5 separate regions of the Homo sapiens genome follow, and regions 2, 3, 4 and 5 are each linked to region 1. Evidence: promoter capture Hi-C in human tissues and cell types (Jung and others, 2019). All regions are on one chromosome and are shown on one strand. The core of a region is centred on a gene start or on the middle of the fragment in contact, and the rest is flanking DNA. Distances in the headings are between cores, read along the strand shown.

What was found. The method cuts DNA at HindIII sites, captures the fragments that hold promoters and counts their contacts. A contact is called where the count stands out against the background at its distance.
Region 2: a contact is called between the fragment with the promoter of LUC7L here and the fragment with the promoter of RHOT2 in region 1, in 1 of the 25 tissues and cell types used here (dorsolateral prefrontal cortex).
Region 3: a contact is called between the fragment with the promoter of SOX8 here and the fragment with the promoter of RHOT2 in region 1, in 5 of the 25 tissues and cell types used here (IMR-90 fibroblasts, dorsolateral prefrontal cortex, lymphoblastoid cells and 2 more).
Region 4: the fragment with the promoter of MRPL28 here is called in contact with the fragment with the promoter of RHOT2 in region 1 in 1 of the 25 tissues and cell types used here (mesendoderm cells).
Region 5: a fragment that was not itself captured here is called in contact with the fragment with the promoter of RHOT2 in region 1 in 4 of the 25 tissues and cell types used here (liver, lymphoblastoid cells, mesendoderm cells and 1 more).

Annotation. Positions count from the first base shown.
Region 1 is chr16:666,882-669,409 of GRCh38, forward strand. RHOT2 (ras homolog family member T2) reads left to right here and starts at 1,251. Exons shown (of 19, transcript NM_138769.3): 1 at 1,251-1,355; 2 at 1,472-1,530; 3 at 1,607-1,688; 4 at 1,775-1,818. The coding sequence starts at 1,319. It overlaps WDR90 (WD repeat domain 90), which reads left to right. Exons shown (of 41, transcript NM_145294.5): 40 at 24-108; 41 at 551-949. The coding sequence ends at 708. RefSeq lists an enhancer at 962-1,643 and silencers at 1,029-1,368, 1,429-1,528, 1,629-1,718. The HindIII fragment of the contact is 52,780 bases long and covers 1-2,528 here.
Region 2 is chr16:226,973-231,406 of GRCh38, forward strand. It overlaps LUC7L (LUC7 like), which reads right to left and starts at 2,477. Exons shown (of 10, transcript NM_201412.3): 1 at 2,307-2,477; 2 at 270-364. The coding sequence starts at 2,367. It also overlaps the pseudogene C4orf46P1. RefSeq lists a silencer at 2,091-2,320 and an enhancer at 2,153-2,849. The HindIII fragment of the contact is 19,974 bases long and covers 1-4,434 here.
Region 3 is chr16:979,804-984,237 of GRCh38, forward strand. It overlaps SOX8 (SRY-box transcription factor 8), which reads left to right and starts at 1,967. Exons shown (of 3, transcript NM_014587.5): 1 at 1,967-2,541; 2 at 3,925-4,157. The coding sequence starts at 2,120. It overlaps CEROX1 (cytoplasmic endogenous regulator of oxidative phosphorylation 1), which reads right to left and starts at 1,810. Exons shown (of 3, transcript NR_164343.1): 1 at 1-1,810. It also overlaps a transcript of LMF1 not described here. The HindIII fragment of the contact is 8,118 bases long and covers 1-4,434 here.
Region 4 is chr16:368,963-371,787 of GRCh38, forward strand. MRPL28 (mitochondrial ribosomal protein L28) reads right to left here and starts at 1,576. Exons shown (of 6, transcript NM_006428.5): 1 at 1,537-1,576; 2 at 969-1,263; 3 at 106-258. The coding sequence starts at 1,256. It overlaps PGAP6 (post-GPI attachment to proteins 6), which reads right to left. Exons shown (of 13, transcript NM_021259.3): 13 at 1,826-2,825. The HindIII fragment of the contact is 14,100 bases long and covers 1-2,825 here.
Region 5 is chr16:933,878-938,311 of GRCh38, forward strand. LMF1 (lipase maturation factor 1) reads right to left here. Exons shown (of 11, transcript NM_022773.4): 3 at 367-377. It overlaps LMF1-AS1 (LMF1 antisense RNA 1), which reads left to right. Exons shown (of 2, transcript NR_110946.1): 2 at 1-647. Among named protein-coding and RNA genes, the nearest start is that of LMF1-AS1, 15 kb to the left of the region's middle. The HindIII fragment of the contact is 3,145 bases long and covers 218-3,362 here.

The DNA of each region.
Region 1 (2,528 bases), core at 1-2,500:
AGCCTCACGCTGGCTGCTCACAGGTGGTGGAGAAGATACCACTGCCCTTTTTTGCCATGTCCCTGAGCCTGTCCCCCGGGACCCACCTCCTGGCTGTTGGCTTTGCTGGTGAGTGCTGGTGGATGCAGTTTGGGCCTGTCTTAGGTGGGGGCCAAGTGGGCTGACTGGTGCCCTGTTCCAAGACAGGTGCCTCACCTGTGCCCCGGGCTCCTCGTCTCTGGGGTGGGGTGAGGACATCTGCCCTAGAGAGGGTCCTGGAGTCAGGAGATGATGAGGCAGGTGAGGAACCAGGCACAGCGCCCAGCACAGGGCCTGAATGCACGGGTGGCAGCGACTTTTAAGGAGGGAACTGGCCCAGCTGCAGGCCGACAGCCTGGCAGTGATGGACCCCCTAGTCCCAGTGGCACGTGGAGGGCACAGCCAGGAGCCCTTTTAGCACCAGCTCCCCCGACCAGCATCATGCCCAGTGGGGACAGTCTGGGTGGGTTGGGGGAGCCCTCTGAGTGCTGCCTGGTCCTGGCCCTGGCCCACCTGCACCGTCTACCCACAGAGTGCATGCTGAGGCTGGTAGACTGTGCCATGGGGACTGCCCAAGACTTTGCCGGCCACGACAACGCAGTGCACCTGTGCAGGTTTACACCGTCCGCCAGGCTGCTCTTCACGGCCGCCCGCAACGAGATCCTTGTGTGGGAGGTCCCCGGCCTCTGAGATGCAGCAGGGACTGTGGTGGTGGGCATCACGCCTGGTCATGCCAGGCACCTGGACACAGGCTTGGCAGAGGCGCCAGGTTGTCAATGGCCTCATGCTGGGACAGGCCAGGATTCACGTAAATCGCCTGGAGCAAGCTGTTGTAAATTTGGCGCCCTGTGAATACTTTCATACCTGTTGCCCTTTTGCCTAAGAAATCTTTAATGTTTCTATCTTGTAATAAACATGGGCATTTATTGCATTATTGCTGCATTGTTGCACTGGCTGTCTCTGGTCACTCCTGGCCTGAGCTCAGCCTCTGCCCGTCCCTTAATCGGCTGTTTGTCAAGGCCCCTGTGGTGCCGTGAAGCAATGGCCGCTCGGCCTGCCAGGGCGCCAGGACCCTGCGCTGTCCGCCGTGGCCGGCGCGTCCACACGGTGGCGCGCCGCACAGCCTGTCCGCTCTGGCCCGCCCGGCTCGCTGGTGCGGCTGTGCGGGCGGGGCCGGAAGTGTGGGGACAGCGCGGGGCCGAGAACCGGAAGTGCGGGGCGGGCGCGGGGGCAGAGCGAAAGGCTTGAGGACCAGGTCGGGGCCGGGTTCCGGGTCGGGGAGCGGCTCCGGGCGGCAGCTATGAGGCGGGACGTGCGCATCCTGTTACTGGGCGAGGGTAGGCGCCGGCCCGGGGGTCTCGGAGCTGCGGCGGCCGTGAGGCGGGGTGAGGGTCTCGGGGGTCGGGGGGCGCCGTGACCTTGGCCCTCGCGCTGACCGCCTCGCCCCGCGCAGCCCAGGTGGGGAAGACGTCGCTGATCCTGTCCCTGGTGGGCGAGGAGTTCCCCGAGGAGGTAAGGGGCACGCCCGCCGCGGGGGTGGGAGCGGGCCCAGCCGGGGGTCCCTGGTGAGCGCGCGGGTCCCTTGCAGGTCCCTCCCCGCGCGGAGGAGATCACCATCCCCGCGGACGTCACCCCGGAGAAGGTGCCCACCCACATCGTGGACTACTCAGGTAGCGGCCGTAGCCTCCCGGGGGCCCGGCCCGCAGCGGTCCGGCGGGCCTGCTGGGTCCGCAGTGGAGTCTCTTTGTCCCCCTAGAAGCCGAGCAGACGGACGAGGAGCTGCGGGAGGAGATCCACAAGGTACCCGTGGTGCGCGGGACGAGGGAGGGGCTGGGCGCGGGCTCGGCCTAATCCGCTTCGCAGCCTGGGGGATTGGACCGAGGTGCTCCGGGTGTCCTTGGCCCTGATAATTCTGTGACCTCCGCACTGAGGGTTGTCGGGGCCCCTACAGCGCACCCCGCTGGGAGCCGGCACCGCTCAGTCCAGTGGTGCTCCAGGGATAACAGGACCCTTCCCCGCGGGCTCTCCCTCCCTCCTGCCGGGGTGGCAGCAGCGTTTGCTCTTCCTGTGGGCTCTGTGTGCGCCACGTCCCCGTGCTGTGTGCTCCAGCCCACCGTCCCGGCCTCCGGGCACCCGGAGCTCCCAGTACCAGAGCACGTGTGCCGGGGACATCTCCAGGCAAGGGCACAGGCCACAGCCACCCAGGGCAGCCCCTGCTGTTGGCACCCCTCACTGCGGTCCTGTCACTCTGTCTGTAGCGAGGGGGGAGGCAGGGGCCAAGGCGGCGGCTGTCTTGCAGGGTGTTGGGTTGCAGGTGTGGCCGTGTCTGTCCTGAGCCCTCTGCTCCAAGGGTCTTGCTGACCACAGTTATGCTTCTGGGGCCTGGTGTCCCTGCACTGGCAGTGGGCGGGGAAGAGGCTTCTCTGAGGGTTCAGCAGCAGCTCCCAGTGTGACACTGGGGAGTGCCTGCTCTGCCAACACCAGGCTGGAGGCAGGTTTTAGGGAAGGCT
Region 2 (4,434 bases), core at 1,227-3,726, 440 kb before region 1:
CTGAGGTGGTAGGATTGCTGGAGCCCAGGAGTTCAAGGCTGCAGTGAGCTGTGATCACACCACTGCACTTCAGCCTGGGCAACACAGAGTGACACTCCATCGCATGCATGCATGCAAACATACATACGAGTGGAGGAACACCTGCCATAATTAAGCCACTTAGAGAAAAAGAGACTTAAGTTAAAACAAAATTCAACATAGAAAAACCGTCACTGCCTATACAGCACTCATGTCAGAGTGTTCCATGAGGTCCCCCAAAATGCACCTACCGTCCCAGCCAGGATGTCATGGGGGCAGCAGTCCAGAAGGTGACTCTTGCAGACACGGTCATCTGTAAACTTGACCCTCTGTCTGGTTTCGTCTCCTGAAATTCATTTGTGGTTTTAAATAAGACAATATTATCACATTAACCACCAAAAAATAACTAGTATAACAATTCACCTGGATGATTTGCAGACTATCATTTCTGTGTTCTCCCCATCAAATGCAATGAAAAGCTGATCTAAAGATATTTACAACTGGAGTGGAATACACATTTTTTTGAGGCTAGTTATATCATGGAGAATCACACTTAATGAGATCTGACTCCATCACTGTACCAAAGAAGTCAAGGAGTCAGACGTAAACAGCTGAGCACCAAAAGGCCATTGGCTCCACATATACATGTGGCAATGAGACTGCAAAACCCAAGCTAATCAGAGGTCCATGAACCACCAAGGGTGACTTATAGAGCTGGTAATTTCCACCAACAAAAGCTACTTATTAATCTAATCTTTTTGTTATGAACAAATGCAGAGGCAGTATTTTGCCCAAAATTGAATGAAGAAGAAAGCTTTCAAACTCTATCGAAGACTGTTAAATAATCTAGATCTATTCTTCCTACGTCCCTTTCGTTCCCACCCTTAAAAAAGAGAGTTGCTACCTGGGAGTCACTTTTAACAAGACAATACCAAAAAAAGCAAAAAAGGAACTAGGTTAGTCAATACACACTGTGAGCTCCAACACATACTGTACCCATCTGCATTCTTCAAGACCTCAGCTGCAGAATTTTATGCCCGCTGTTGAAAAGTGTTAAAGGAAAAGTTTTCTTGCCCACACCTGCAGTAAGGAAGTCGGGGGAATGATACATAAAAGTAAAGGTAAAGTGGTATGTGACAAATTTTAAAGCTAGTCTGTGTATACAACACAGAGCTGTGCAACGCTAGAGGAGGAATATATTTTAGGATTTGCAAGCATCCAGGATTAATGTAGTGTCTTTTTATTGAAAATGTTTTCTTTCTAAACTACACTTTTAAAGTTACTTGTGAAAAAAAGCAAACACTTTTTTGTTATAACAGCTTAGAAATTGGTTGTGACTCACGGCTCGATGAACATGAGGCTTTCTGCAACTCCCTTGCAGATTGATGTAGGCAGGCAAAGATACACTGAACCTTTATAAATAAAATAGAGGGGCCACAATTGTTCAGTTTGTATGAAATAAAAATATGGGAAGCAATTCAAAAGCAACTCAATATACAAAGAAAGCTAAAAAGCACTTATTCACCTATGAAATAAAGTGCAAATAATCTGCACAGCCCTGAGAATGTGCCAGTGTGAACTTACAACTTCATTACTCAGCAGAAAAGAAAACACAAACCACAGCAGGTATATAGTTTTGCAAAGATGCAACCGCTTTCTCCTGTGACAACCATCATGATCTTGAGCTCCTCCCTACACAGTACAACCTACCTAACGACTGTCAAGCGCTGGCTACACAGAGGCTCTCCTGTGTGCTGGGGGGAAGGGGGCAGCTGGAAAAGTACTTGGCAGAAACCCACGTTAGAAAAGCTCAGTTTACGGTTCCCCTTGCAATGGTACAGAACCAGAGCGGGCCAGGTTTTCGAGGCCCATCCGGCTCCCTCGGGTGTAGCTTCTTCCCAAGGAGCCTCGGAAGAGTTCTGCCACCCGGCTGCCAGCGACCTGGAGCCCACGCTGATTCCAGCCCTCCGCCGACTCCACAGTTCGCGGAGGGGCACGGAGCCGCGGCGCCCGCCGGGGAGGAAGTAGCAGGACGGTACATAGGAAGGAGGCTGAAGCCCCATCCATGGCGCAGACTCCGAGAGAGGAGCCCGACCTGGACCCACGGCCGCCTCAGAGACGCACCGGCTTAGACAAAGGCCCGGCGCCTGCGGTCGGAGCGCGGGGGAGGAGGAGCGATGCCCCGCGCAGGCGCAGGCGCAGACGATCGCGGCCCCCGCCTCAGGCCGCCCGGCGGCCTCGCCTCACTCCCACCCCAGACCCTCGCCTGGTTGGCCGCTCTGACTCACCGTCCCGAGCCGTGCCCATGAGCTGGTCCAGCAGGGCCCGCATCTGCGCCTGGGCGGACATGGTAGCCGGCGGAGGCGACGGGGTCGGCCGCGACGACTTCTCTCAGGCAGGCGGTGGCAGCGGCGTCGACAAACGATGGTCGCGTCGGCCTCGAGCCCACTCGGCTCTTTCCCGCCGCGGGGGACGCCGGGAGGAAGTACGACGGCGCCGGCGCACGCCCTGCTGGGAAATGTAGTTTCTGGGGTGGGTGCTTAGGGAGGCTGAGGCTCTGAGTGGTCGCAAGTTGTCCAACGGCGGAACCAAAATCCCAACCCTGATTTTACTCTAGACCCCCAGGACCTCAAACGAGTCTCTACGGAGGGTAAACTACAATAAAATGAAATACAGTCAATCAAAAACAAGATGAATCCGTGCTTTTTCTAAGCTAGCCATGAAACCGTGAGCATATTATTTAGCTCCCCGACGCTCGTTTTTTTAAATCTGTGAAATGAGGGTTCTAAAGGTGCCCCTCATATGATTTTTGTGAAAGTTAAATAAAGCATGGAATTTTATTTATTTATTTATTTATTTATTTAGAGCGAGGGTCTTGCTCCGTCGCCCAGGCTGGAATGCAGTGGCGCGATTACCGCTCACTGCAGCCTCGACCTCCCCGGCTCCTTATCCTCCCGCCTCAGCCCGGCAAAGTATTGGGATTACTGGTGTGAACCACCACGTTTGGCCATCAGTCATGGCATTAATATTAGGTTCTATGATTACAACCTCGTGGTCGTCCTTTTGTGAGCTCATGGTCTACTGTCCCAGGGACTAAAGAAAAGGCATATGTAAGCAGTTATTTTATGTGATAATAGAATTATAGCATGCACTTATGTGTGCATAGTCTGGCATATACTTCTATTATATTAAACCTCTATTATTTATTTATTTATTTTTGAGACGGAGTTTCGCCCAGGCTAGAGTGCAATGGCGCGATCTTGGCTCTCCGCAACCTCCGCCTCCTGGGTTCAAGCGATTCTCCTGCCTCAACCTCCCAAAGTGCTGGGATTACAGGCATGAGCCACCACGCCCGGTCTTTATTTTTTATTTGTTTATTTTTTTTTTGAGACGGAGTCTTGCTCTGTCACCCAGGCTGGAATGCTGTGGCGCGATCTCGGCTCACTGTAAGCTCCGCCTCCCGGGTTGAAGCGATTCTCCTGCCTCAGTCTCCCCAGTAGCTGGAATTTCAGGCGCCCGCCACCCCCTCCGGCTAATTTTTGAATGTTAAGTAGAGACGGGGTTTCACCATGCTGGCCAGGCTGGTCTCAAAGTCTTGACCTCAAGTAGCCAGCCACCATGCCCAGCTGATTTTTGTATTTTCGGTAGACACGGTGTTGTACCGTATTGGCCAGGCTGGTCTTGAACTTCTGACCTTGTGATCTGCCTGCCTCGGCCTCCCAAAGTGCTGAGATTACAGGCGTGAGCCACCGCGCCCTGCCGTATTTTATTTATTTTTGAGACGGAGTCTCCCTCTGTCGCCCAGCCTGGAGTGCAGTGGCGCGATCTCGGCTTCCTGCATCCTCTGACTCCTGGGTTCAAGCGATTCTCTTGTCTCAGTCTCCCCAGTAGCTGGGATTACAGGCACCCGCCATCATTCCCGACTAACTTTTTTTTTGTACTTTTGCAGAGACGGGGTTCCGCCATGTTGGCCAGGCTGGTCTTAAACTCCTAACCTCAGGTGATCCGCCCACCTCAGCCTCCCAAAGTCCTCGGATTACAGCTGTGAGCCAGAACGCCAGGCCCCTGCTCTCTATTTAAAATAAATAAATAGGGTGTCCGTTGGGCTGCTCGGGTCGGATTCCGCGGTGCCAGCCCTTCCCCATGGCCGACCCTGAGAAGTTGCAGGTTTCTTCGCCGCCCCCGCCGCCTCCTTCTCCCTCCTCTTCAGACGCCTCTGCAGCATCTTACCCTGGCAGCCCAGTGAGTTTGGGCTGGCCAGTTCCGAGCAGGAGCAGCGGCCGAACGGTGGACCCGCTGGAGGAAGTGGGGCTGCAGATCGGAGACGCAGCCTTTTCATTAACCAAACTTCTTGAAGCCACATCTGCAGTATCAGCTCAAGTGGAAGAACTTGCCTTCAAATGTACAGAAAAGGCA
Region 3 (4,434 bases), core at 717-3,216, 310 kb after region 1:
GGACCCCCACCCTCACTGCTTCCACTTAAACCCCCACTTCTGCCTGCCTGCATCCCAGGCCTAACAGATGAGTTCCGCGGGCGCCCCAGGCGATGCTCTGAGGGCCACGGAAGGATGCGGGGACCCCGAGCGGAGGGCAGGGCCTCCAGGGGGAAGAGGCACTGCAGACGGAGGTGTGGGTCTTCCCAGGCAGGTGCCGGAGCCAAGCGAGATGGTGGGACGGGGAAGAGAGGGCAGGCCAGGCTGGCAGCCAGCTCTCCACCTACGATGCGTGGAGCCTCCCAACTCGCGCACTCCGTCTCCCCACCGCTGCTTCCTCTGACCTGGCTGCAGAGATGAGACCGCCCTCCGGGCAGGTGACACGGCCCTTGCTCTTCAGCCTGGAGGCCAATGCTTCCTCCAAAGGCCCTGGCCCCCTCAGCTCCGGGCCTGGCTCCGGTTGTTCCCAATGCAAAGCAGCAAGGGCCCCGGGGTCTGCGGACGGGGGCGGGCGGCCGCTGGGGGCACCAGCTCTCGGCCGGGCCAGAACAGGGGGTAGGAGGCGCGTCCTGTGCGGTCGGTGGCGGCCCCAGGTGGGTGCGGTGCGCTGGCAGGAAGCGGCAGCACGACCCCCGACTTTGCATCTGGACTTTTCTAGTAACGGACCAGCTCCTTCTGCCGACCGGGCCGGGGAGACCGCGTGGCTCAGTGGCTGCAGCGGCCACCGGCCCGGGCGTGGGGGCTTTGAGGGCACCGGCGCGGTAGGTCACCCGGGTTTCGCGGGCCGCAAGCTCGGAGACGCGCGTGTCCCGCGTTGGCTGCCTGACCCGGAATGGCGCAGCCCCTTCGCCTCCAGCGCGCTGGTTGAAAGGATCCGAGCCACCCTCGGGGACGGCCGGGCCGAGGCCACCTCGCGGGGCGGCCTTGGGCGGGGACCCGGACCCGCGGTTGGACGTTCGCCTCGGGGGGGGCAATGTCCCCTCTCCGACCCCGCGGTCCCCACCAGGGCGGCACACCCCGCCCTCTCCCCGCCTCCGCAGGCGCCCAGGGCTCACAGGCTCGGAGCGGCCTCCGCCTCTGCCGGACCACCCAGGGCCGCCCCGCCGGAGGGGCCTCCCCGCCCCCGAGCCCTAGGTCACGCCCGGAAGGCCCGGGGCCCCCGCGTCCGGCCACGCCATCCGCCCGGCGGCCCCAGGGACTCAGCGCCGGGGTCAGCGCAGGCCCCGCCCAGCGCTCCCGCCCCCTCCAGCTGGCCGGCCCCCGGGACCGCGCCCCCGCCCGCGCTCTCCACGCTCGCACTCGTATGGGCAGGGCGGCCCGGGGTCCCCCAGCTCCGAGCCGCGGCCCCTTGAAGCGCGTTACCTGGACGTGCGCTGTCCGCAGACTCTGGACGAGCTGGGCCTGGGCGCTGCGCGGCGGAACCGACCCTGTCCTGGACCGCAGGCAGCAGCTGACCCCGCGCCACCGGCCTGCGGGCGAGACCTCAGGCGCGAGACGGGCTGTGTGTGTGTGTGTGTGTGTGAGAGAGAGAGAGAGAGAGAGAGAGAGAGAGAGAGAGAGAGAGAGTGTGTGTGTGTGTGTGTGTGTGTGTGTGTGTGTGTGTGTGTGTCGGGGGAGGGGCCCGAGGACCCGCTTCCTAGCTGAGCGTCAGGACGGGGGGCGGACTCTCAGGAGCCGCGCGGCGCCCGCAGAGGAGAGGAAGCGCCGGAGACCCCCCTGCTCCCACCCGGCCTCCCTGCCCCGCTTCCTTTCCCGGGGCTCCAGAGAGGGGAGCTCCAGGCGTGGGGCGCCTGGCCCACGTGGTGCGGCGCCGGGCGGGGCAGGCGGGGGCGCGGCGAGAGCCGCGGAGCTTTCTTTATGGGTGGGGGGGCGGGGGCGGCCGGGCTCCGCCTCCGGGGGATCGGGGCGCGCTCCGCCAATGGGTAGCCGGGCGCGGGGCGGGGCCGCGGGGCCGCCGCTTAAAGAAACTTGTTGCGGGTCCCGCAGCGGGACCCGAGCCTCGGCGGCGGCGGCGGCGGCGGCAGGGGCGAGGGTCGGGGCCACCGCGCGGCGACCTCGGGTCCCGGAGCGACCGCAGGGCAGCCCCGGGCGCCGGCCCCGGTGCGCGTCTCCTGTGCGCGCCCCTCCGCGCGCGGCCCCGATGCTGGACATGAGCGAGGCCCGCTCCCAGCCGCCCTGCAGCCCGTCCGGCACCGCCAGCTCCATGTCGCACGTGGAGGACTCGGACTCGGACGCGCCGCCGTCTCCCGCCGGCTCCGAGGGCCTGGGCCGCGCGGGGGTCGCGGTGGGGGGCGCCCGGGGCGACCCGGCGGAGGCGGCGGACGAGCGCTTCCCGGCCTGCATCCGCGACGCCGTGTCGCAGGTGCTCAAGGGCTACGACTGGAGTCTGGTGCCCATGCCGGTGCGCGGCGGCGGCGGCGGCGCGCTCAAAGCCAAGCCGCATGTGAAGCGGCCCATGAACGCATTCATGGTGTGGGCGCAGGCGGCGCGCCGCAAGCTGGCCGACCAGTACCCGCACCTGCACAACGCCGAGCTCAGCAAGACGCTGGGCAAGCTGTGGCGGTGAGTGCCGGCGCCCCGGGGGCGGGGTTCGGGACCTTGGCCGCCCCTGGTCTCGGACTGCGAGCGGGGGCCTGGAGGGCGCAGAGCTCGCGGAGGTGGTGGCCACACGCAGGCTCCGGGCTCTGCACCCCGGGCGGGTGTCAGGGCGGGTCCCAGTGGAAAAACATCCTCTGGCCAGCCGGGGTCCGGCGCCAGCTATGGGAGTCGGGATCCGCGGAGGGCAGCGCCTGGGGTGTGCACCCTCGTGGCGGGTGCGCTCTGGAGCCAGTTCTCCTGGCGGGGAACACCCTGCGGAGGGCCATGGCTGGCACCCCGACGTGCCCTCCAGCCGTTGCGAGTGGCCCCAGCCCCGGGAGGCACGCCCGGCACGACAGCAAGTTGCATGCGGCTCTCTGGAGGTGCTCCCTCCTTAGAAAGGGCTCAGCTCCTCTAGCTCCTGGACCACCCATGGGGAGGGAGTGCGGCAGGCGGATGGGTGGGCAGCAGGTTTGCCTGCGAGTACCCTCCCCGCAGTTTCTCCCTCTCCTGGACACCCTCGGTCCGAAGCAGGGAGGGCAGGAGTGGAGATGACGGGGTGCGCCGTGTGCACGCCTTGGCGTGGTGGGGCCGGTCAGTTTTCCAGAAATTAGGACTGCAGAGTGAAGAACTTGTTGCTCAGGACAGGCCGCCCCCACCGAGTGTCCTCTGGTTGGGTTTCAAATGGTTCTCTTGGTTTGGGGCTCTGGTTCCCGTATCCTGCTCCTCACCTGGAAGAAGGGAGCTTGGAGCTTGCGTATTTGCACCTCCTGCCTTCTGTCTGGATCTAGGGCGCAGCCACGGGGCGCTGTGGACGGCAGGCCCCTGCTCCCCCAAGTCCTGCCGCACAGGCGGTTGGAGGTGAGCCTCGGGAAGAGTCCCAAGGAGTGTGTCCTGTGGCTCAGTGAGGACGGGCGCCTGGGCCCTGCCAGGGCTTCTGGGTGTCTGGGAATGGAGGGACAGCAGCCCAGCTGCCCGCCGAAGGCCGGCACCGTTCCCGGGAAGCCTCGCTTTTGTCCACCGCCGGCTGGGTCCTGCCCGCCTCCCCCGCCTCCCTTAGAAAGCCCCAGAGGGAGGGAACAGCAGGCCCGGAATAGGGGGAAATAGAAGGAGGAAGATGGGAGGCGTGGGGCTTGTTCTTCTTTGGCTGTCGTAAGCATACCAACCTTCCCAAACAGGCGCCGGCCGGTTCTCCCAGAGGAGTGTACTGCCTGGTGCCACGGGAGGCTCCGGAGCGCACGGCAGGCGGGTTTCCCTGGTCAGAGCCTCCTGGCCCCGGCCTCTGCTGCCGGTTCCCCCTGTGGTGTGTGCCTGCGCCGAGGGCACAGTGGGCGCCCTGGCCATCCCTGCCTCTGCCCTGTGCTGCAGCTTGCTGAGCGAGAGCGAGAAGCGGCCCTTCGTGGAGGAGGCAGAGCGCCTTCGCGTGCAGCACAAGAAGGACCACCCCGACTACAAGTACCAGCCACGGCGCAGGAAGAGCGCCAAAGCCGGCCACAGCGACTCCGACTCGGGCGCGGAGCTGGGACCCCACCCTGGCGGCGGTGCCGTGTACAAGGCTGAAGCAGGGCTTGGAGATGGGCACCACCATGGCGACCACACAGGTGGGCTCCAGGCCCCCCGCATATCTGAGGGTCCCTGTATGGGAGGCAGCTGTGGGGTTTCTGGCTGAGAAGGGTGCATGATGGTGGAGGGGGGCAGGCGCCCTCGAGAGAACCGGGCCTTCCCCGGGTTCCCTGAAAAAGCTCCCAAGGCCCCGGCCGCCCCTGTTTTTGGTGCACGAGGGACCTGCTTAGCCACCTTGAGTGCTGAGGGGCTGACAGCTTTGCTTGGCAGGGACCCCGAGAGGTGGTGTTTTCAGCAAGACTCAGTCCAATGCGG
Region 4 (2,825 bases), core at 326-2,825, 300 kb before region 1:
GTGCAGATGTCAGCGTGCCCCGGTGTGATGCTGACCTGGGGCTCCCGTGAGTCTGACTGGCCCATCCCAGACCCTGTGTGCACTGACTCGCCCCACCCCGCTTGCCTTGAGGATGTAAAAGTCGAGCCCATAAGCCTCATCGATGAGGTCCAGGGTCCGCATGGTCACAGTCACTGTGAACTTCTTGTCCAGGATCTCACTGTAGAACTCTCGCTCAAACAGCTGTGGCTTCCACACTTTCTTCAGCCTCTTGGAGAGCTGAGGGTGCAACAGAGCCTCCATGAGTACTGCTGCTTTCTCTTACATACCAAGGGGGGCCCAGGCAACTGCCCTCACCTCCCCCCCGGAGGCTCCATCACAGAACCACTGCTGTCAGACTGGGGACCTAGAGCTAACTGGGCCGGCCCCCAGCCCAGTGCCGCCCCAGCCCGACCCGGGTCCTGACTGTGTACCCAGAAGTCAGCTGCTCCCCAACAAGCTGGGCGTTCCCGCCCTGGTCACATGGTTGCTGCATGTGTTTCAGAAACATGTGCGACCCCACAGTTTACAGGTTGTCACATTCCAACCTGGAGGTGACACAAGTCTCCCCACAGGCTTCAGCAGTCCCGCCAGGAAGTCCACCACAAGCAGCCTCGAAGCTCTGCTCGCCTCCCCCACCTGCTCTGCTCGCCTCTCCCACCTGCTCTGCTCATCACACAGGCCTCCTCCCCATCCTAACTTTACCCCGACTCCCCACGGCCTCTGGTTGCTCCCCCGGCCTGAGTCACCCCACCTCACCCCTACTTTATCAGTCCTGTTTGCCAGAACTGCGGTTCTTCACTCAGCGTGCTCCTTTGCCGGAGATGTGTCGCCTCCAGGCTGTAATCCCCAGGGCCCACCCAGGTCTCTCCAGGTACCCCGGGCGTCCGGCACAGAGCCGGCACAGCCAAGCCCTGAGAGGAGCCCCTGAAGGCCGCCTGCGGACCCACCTTGTCGTTGTTGGCATATATTTGGCCCAGGATCCAGCCCTCGCCGCCCCACAACCCCCGCTGGGATTCGGGGGGAAAGTAGATGGGAATGGGCACGTCCTCCACACGCTCCCGCTGCCCGTTCTTGGGGTTGATCTTGAACTTGGCCCCATGAGGCCTATAGTGCACGGGAGTGGGCGTCCGCTCCTCCTCCAGGGAGCGCAGGTAGTGGCCGGGCAGGCGGGAACAGATGCCCTCCCGCAGCTGCAGCCGCTTCCAGAGCCACACGGGATACTTGTGTAGAGGCATCGCGAGCCTGGCGGGAGGTGGGGGCTCGCAGTCAGTCGCAGCCTGGCCAGGCCCCCGGCACTCACCCCCTACCCCGGCCCCCGACTCTCACCCGCTACCCCGGCCCCCGGCTCTCACCCGCTACCCCGGCCCCCGGCTCTCACCCGCTACCCCGGCCCCCGGCTCTCACCCGCTACCCCCTACCCCGGCCCCCGGTTCTCACTCCGGCCCCTGTCCCGCACCCACCTGCCCCTCCCCTTCTGCCCCGGCGCCCCCCCACACCCCACCTGCCCGCGCCCACCTTTCAGGGTTCAGAGCCCACCGGAACCGGAAGCCGATCTGCCGCGCCTGGCCCTCCTCCCACCGCTGACTGGCTGTAAAAGCCATCCGTCTACCCCCTCGTCCCGCCCCGCTTCCGTCTTTAGGGACCGTAAAAAACACCCCACATACAGCAGCAGCAGCTCAAGGCACCGTTAGCTACGTGCGGCCCCGGCGTTTCCGCGAAGGGCGGCACGGGCGGGGCGGTGCTTGTTCTCCCGGGCCCCACTTACCCTACCCGGGAAGGAGCACAGAAAAAATGTAAAAACTCGTTTAGTTTGAAAAATCAATGTAGAATATTAAATTCACCAAACACAGATAGATCAGATCTACATAAAAATATGTCTTAATATCTTAGAATTTTCCTTTACTCCAAAAAACCCCATATATATATGTTTCTCCTTTATAAGCTTAGAGATTGCTTTGGTGGTCAAGTGCAGGGCGGCTGGGGGAGGTAAGACCTTCAGGAAGGCCATATCCCGGACAAGACCCAGAAGGGAAGCCCCCAGAGCCAAGGGTAGGAGGGCCCCACCCGGGTCTCAGCCACTCACTTCTCCAGGGCGGATCCGAGACACTCACAGGCCTCAGGGAGGGGCCAGGTGCTGCTCCTGGTCATTGCTTCCCCCACAAGGTTTGCATGAGGAGCAGAGACAGTCCAGTCTCCTGAACACCCACAGGGCACAGAGCCCAGTGCAGGGGGCAGACACCACCGCAGCTCCTGGGACCAAGAGGAAGCTCCCAGAGGGGGGCCCAGGAACGCTGGGGTGGGTGGACAGGGCTGGGTAGGGGTTCCTTCTGGGCCAAACCCCCAGAGCAGCAGAGCACCCCAGTCCAAGGAAGCTCTTCTCAGGGACCCAAGGCTCCAGAGCCAGGAAAAAGGGAGGGGCGGGGCGGGAGCCTGCATCCCCAGTGCCCATCAGCTCTGGGGGAAACCTCCGTCTCCCGTCCCTATGGTGACCACAGCAGCAGAGGGGGATCCTCCATGCCCCAGGCAGGCTGGCATCAGGGCCACACAGGGGCCAGGAGCAGGGGTCTCGGAGTCCACAGCTCCCGGCCCCAGTGGTGGGCTCAGGGCTCCTGGGCGCCATGGGTCTCACCACAGCCTCGCCAGGGAACAGGACCATAGGGAGTCCTTCTCCCCATCTCTAGCCACCCACAGGCCAGCAGAGCACACAGCCCCACCCTCGCACAGGCACCTGTGGTCTCCAAGTAACCAAGCCCAGGCCCCAGGGGCCACTGCAGACAGCAGCTGGGATCTGCAGAGGGATCTCA
Region 5 (4,434 bases), core at 540-3,039, 270 kb after region 1:
CCGTGAGCACCGTGAACCTTCTCTATGCCGAGGGGCACACAGCCTTGAGCGTCCACGGGGGATGGGCCTGTGGGTGCTTTCCCTCTGCCCCAGGGAAGCGGTGGTAATCACACCTGTGAGATGCCGACAATCATGCGTGCGACCATCCGTCTCTAGGTGCCCGGGGCCTGGAAGCCCAGGAGCTCCCACATCCAGGGAGGAGGCACGGATCAGATCACAAGCGCCCATCACTGCCCTCCGTGCATACTGGGAAGGCTGATGGCAGAGGCTAAGGAAGGGGAGAGGCCAGGAAAAGTGCGTGAAGATACATACCAAACACACAACGCTCAACTCTCGCAGAGCTTTCTCTAAATGCATCTCACTTACCGAAAGAGTACCTGAAAAACAAAAGAAGAAACGAGTATTAACACTTTGGCTTGTTTCAACCAAAAACCCACTGTTTCCCCACTGAGTGAAGCCCACCCTGGCACCCAGCACGGTGTGGGGTCAGGGAAGCCCTGCGAGGAGGACCTGCCCGCTGGGCATTAGGGGAACAGGAGCCCCTCCCCACGGCTCACACACAGGCAGGCCCAGAACAGGCAACCAAAACATATTCCAAGATACACCTACTAAGTACCCATAGAAATAAAAAAATATGTATTTTGCGAATGAGTGAATTAATACTTATTTTTTTGCAGCATCAATTAAATGCCACGGCAAATGTCATACTCTGGAATCTGAAAATTTAAGGACATCACATGACCTCGAGCGCAGCTCATTAGAAAAGGGATCTTAAATGAAAGGAATTGGTGGGAAAGGCTGGGCAAGGCCTGTGTCTTTACTATTGAATCCCAACCAAAAGGGGTTTCAGTGATGCTGTGACCCGCTTCTTACCCTCAGACAGCAGAGGCGTGGGCAAGCAGCACGGGTGTCTAGAGGAGGCAGAGCCGCGGGAAAGCAACACCAATGCATCCCACACCTGCCTCAGCCTCTGACCTCTCTAACCCCACCCCACCTCACAGCAAGACCTACCCTTGGGCTCTAGAAGAAACCCCCTCTGCCACCTATGGTCCCGCAAGAGGCGGGCAGGATGCACCAATGCCCGCATGAGGAGCCCTGCCTCAGGTGCTCAGTGCCACACCTGACGTAGAAGGCACAGCATGTGGTTTGTGGACACGAAATGTACGGAACAGGCCGGTCCACAGACACAGGAGGTAGATTGCCAGGTTTATCCTGGGGTTGATCAGAATTTTTTTTTTTTTTTGAGACACGGTCTCATTCTATCACCCAGGTTGGAGTGCAGCGGTGCATAACCTCACTACAACCTCAAGCTCCTGGGCTGAAGCAGTCCTCCCGCCTCAGCCTCCTGAGTTGCTGGGACCACAGGTGTACACCATGATGCCCCACTAATTTTTGTATTTTCTATAGAGGTTTTGCCATGTTGCCCTGGCTGGTCTCAAACTCCTAGACTCAGGCGATCCTCCTGCCTCCACCTCCCTAAGTGCTGGGATGACAGGTGTGAACTGCCCCAGCCAGAATGTTTTCAACGTGGTGCTGATGGCTTCAGAGTCCATGAATATGTACGCTGACTTGTACACTTTATGTCAGGGTTGTCGGTTGTCCAATCTTGTGGCTTCCGTGGGCCACAATGGAAGAAGAAAAATTGTCTTGGGCCACACATAAAATATACTAACACTAGTGACAGCTGATGAGCTAAAAAAAAAAAAACTCATAATGTTTTAAGAAAGTTTATGAATTTGTGTTGGGTCTCATTCAAAGCCATCCTGAGCCGCGTGTGGACAAGCTTGCTTTAAATGCAGTTTTATGGTATGTGAATTCTATCTCACTAAAGACATTAAGGAGCAACGTTGCCTAATGAAATCCACAGGAATGAAAAGCTACAGGGTGTGGGACGGCCCTCAGGGCCCACTGCCCATCCCAGGGCTCCCTACATCGTCCGACCTTTGAATATGTCTGTGATTTTCCACCTTGACATTACGATAAAAGCACAGCAAAGGCCATGACAAACGACATCTGAGCCGTGGGGGAGGTGGGCGGGGACAGAGTACTGGAGGGCTCATTCTTCAACCGCATCAGGTGTGTGGCTGCCCCAGTGGCTCTGATATCTTTTTAAATCATCCCTTACCCGGTAGAGGTCCACACTATTTATAGGTAAAAGAGTACGAAGTCTAGATTTGCTTTTCACTCCAGAGGAAGAAGGCTGGGAGGGAGAGAGGGCACCCCGTTGGCTGAGGAAGGAGGCTGGGAGGGAGAGAGGGCACCCCGTGGGCTGAGGAAGGTGGCTGGGAGACAGAGGGGGCACCGTGTGGGCTGAGGAAGGAGGCTGGGAGAGAGGGGGTACCCCGTGGGCTGAGGAAGGAGGCTGGGAGGGAGAGAGGGCACCCCGTGGGCTGAGGAAGGAGGCTGGGAGGGAGAGAGGGCACCCCGTGGGCTGAGGAAGGTGGCTGGGAGAGAGAGGGGGCACCGTGTGGGCTGAGGAAGGAGGCTAGGAGAGAGGGGGTACCCCGTGGGCTGAGGAAGCAGGCTGGGAGGGAGAGAGGGCACCCCGTGGGCTGAGGAAGGAGGCTGGGAGGGAGGGAGGGCACCCCGTGGGCTGAGGAAGGTGGCTGGGAGAGAGAGGAGGCACCCTGTGGGCTCAGGAAGGAGGCTGGGAGAGAGGGGGTACCCCGTGGGCTGAGGAAGCTGGCTGGGAGGGAGAGAGGGCACCCCGTGGGCTGAGGAAGGAGGCTGGGAGGGAGAGAGGGCACTCTGTGGGCTGCAGGATACACTCCCTGCCCCCCTTTCCGTGACCAAAATCTTCCAAGCAACCGCTGTACACATTGGCTAATGCTAGAAATAAATTTACCCCCAAAATGTTCCCAATATATAACCTTAGTTGAACGGAGAAAGGAAAAGGAGCTGATTTTTCAAATCCATAGAGAATAAAAGCTTTGCTCTTTTATTAGCCAGGTGTGGTGGCGCACACCTGTAGTCCCAGTGACCTTGGGGCCGAGGCTGGAAGATGGCTTAAGCCCAGGAGTTCCAGGCTGCAGTGAGCCAAGATCGCGCTACTATTGCACTCCAGCCTGGGCGACAGGGCGGGAGATCCTAGCTAAAAAGACGCAGCCTCACGCTTTTATCAGAAGGGACCAAGGCCTGGAAGAGTTTCAGTGACTCAGGGCCACCAAAATACAAGCGTTGTGCAGAGAAGGGGTGAGTCCAGACGCAGCTGCCTTCACATCGGCTGAGGGTGTTCGAAAATGCATTCTTCTGTCACTTCACCTGCTTTGAATTTTGCATTTCAAGGCTGCCTGATAAAAGAATCTTTAAATAGCAGGTTTTAGCTAAGGTAATGACACGAAAAACTAAAACGTCTTATTACTTTCATAGCTTTTATTACATTTTCAACAGTTGGAACTCACGTTAGAAGATACCGACTCCGTGGAGTTCTTCTGGGTTTGTTCTGCTGTTTTGTTCTTTAAAGAAACTCAAGTCCTTTCCTGGACAGTGGGACGTAGATTTTGCTTTTGGATGGTCGGGGTTAACACGCTCCCTCTGACTGCCTAGTGAGGTCAGGAACCTGCTCCCCTGTGAGCCTCCACACCTGACTGACAGGCCGCTGGGGTCTCTGTTGACTGACAGGCTGCTGGGGTCTCTGTTGACCGACAGGCTGCTGGGGTCTCTGTTGACTGACAGGTCGTTGGGGTCTCTGTGCTAGGGAGGCAGCAAGACCCCCGATGCCCTGCAGATGCTGCACACGGCCCCAGCACAGGCCCTGCCCCTTGCACTGGATGGGGGCTCCCATTTCTATAGGAAGCTTTTGATTTAAAAACACATTTGGCTCCAGCTACTTATCATCTGTAAAAAGACTTCATGTATAAATATTTGTTAAATTTTATGCTCCCCATTTTGGGGCAGGCTAGTTGTAAATTTGTAAGAAATCTTCCAGTTTCTGGCCTAGTGCAAAGAACTTTGCTGGAGGCCTATCTAGAGTGTGTAGTAGGGACTTAATCATGAACCATGTCCTCCTGAACCACGCCCAGGTTCCTGACTTGTGTCTGCAGCTGATCCTGAACCACGCCCAGGTTCCTGACTTGTGTCTGCAGCTGATCCCACCATCAAGACTGAAGTCTTTGTCATGTGGTGAAGGCCAAACGTGGATTTATTTACAGAAGTTACCAAAAAAAAAATACCACAAAAAAAGAGGGGCGCCTTTGGGTGAGAGCAGCTGGGGGGCTTCCATGTCTACCCGCCTCGCAGGAGAGGGGGTGGAGCACCCACCAGACCACTGTGCCTCCCACTCAATCACGGAACGGGGTGCCAGCTAGCACTGGCAAGGCCGGGACGCTGGGTCCCGCTGTGCAGGGCCATGGCCTGCCTGGCACAGGGAAGCGCTAGACTGAACAGTGGCTTGTGGGGACGGCAGGGATGGGGCTGGACAGTGGCTTGCAGGGA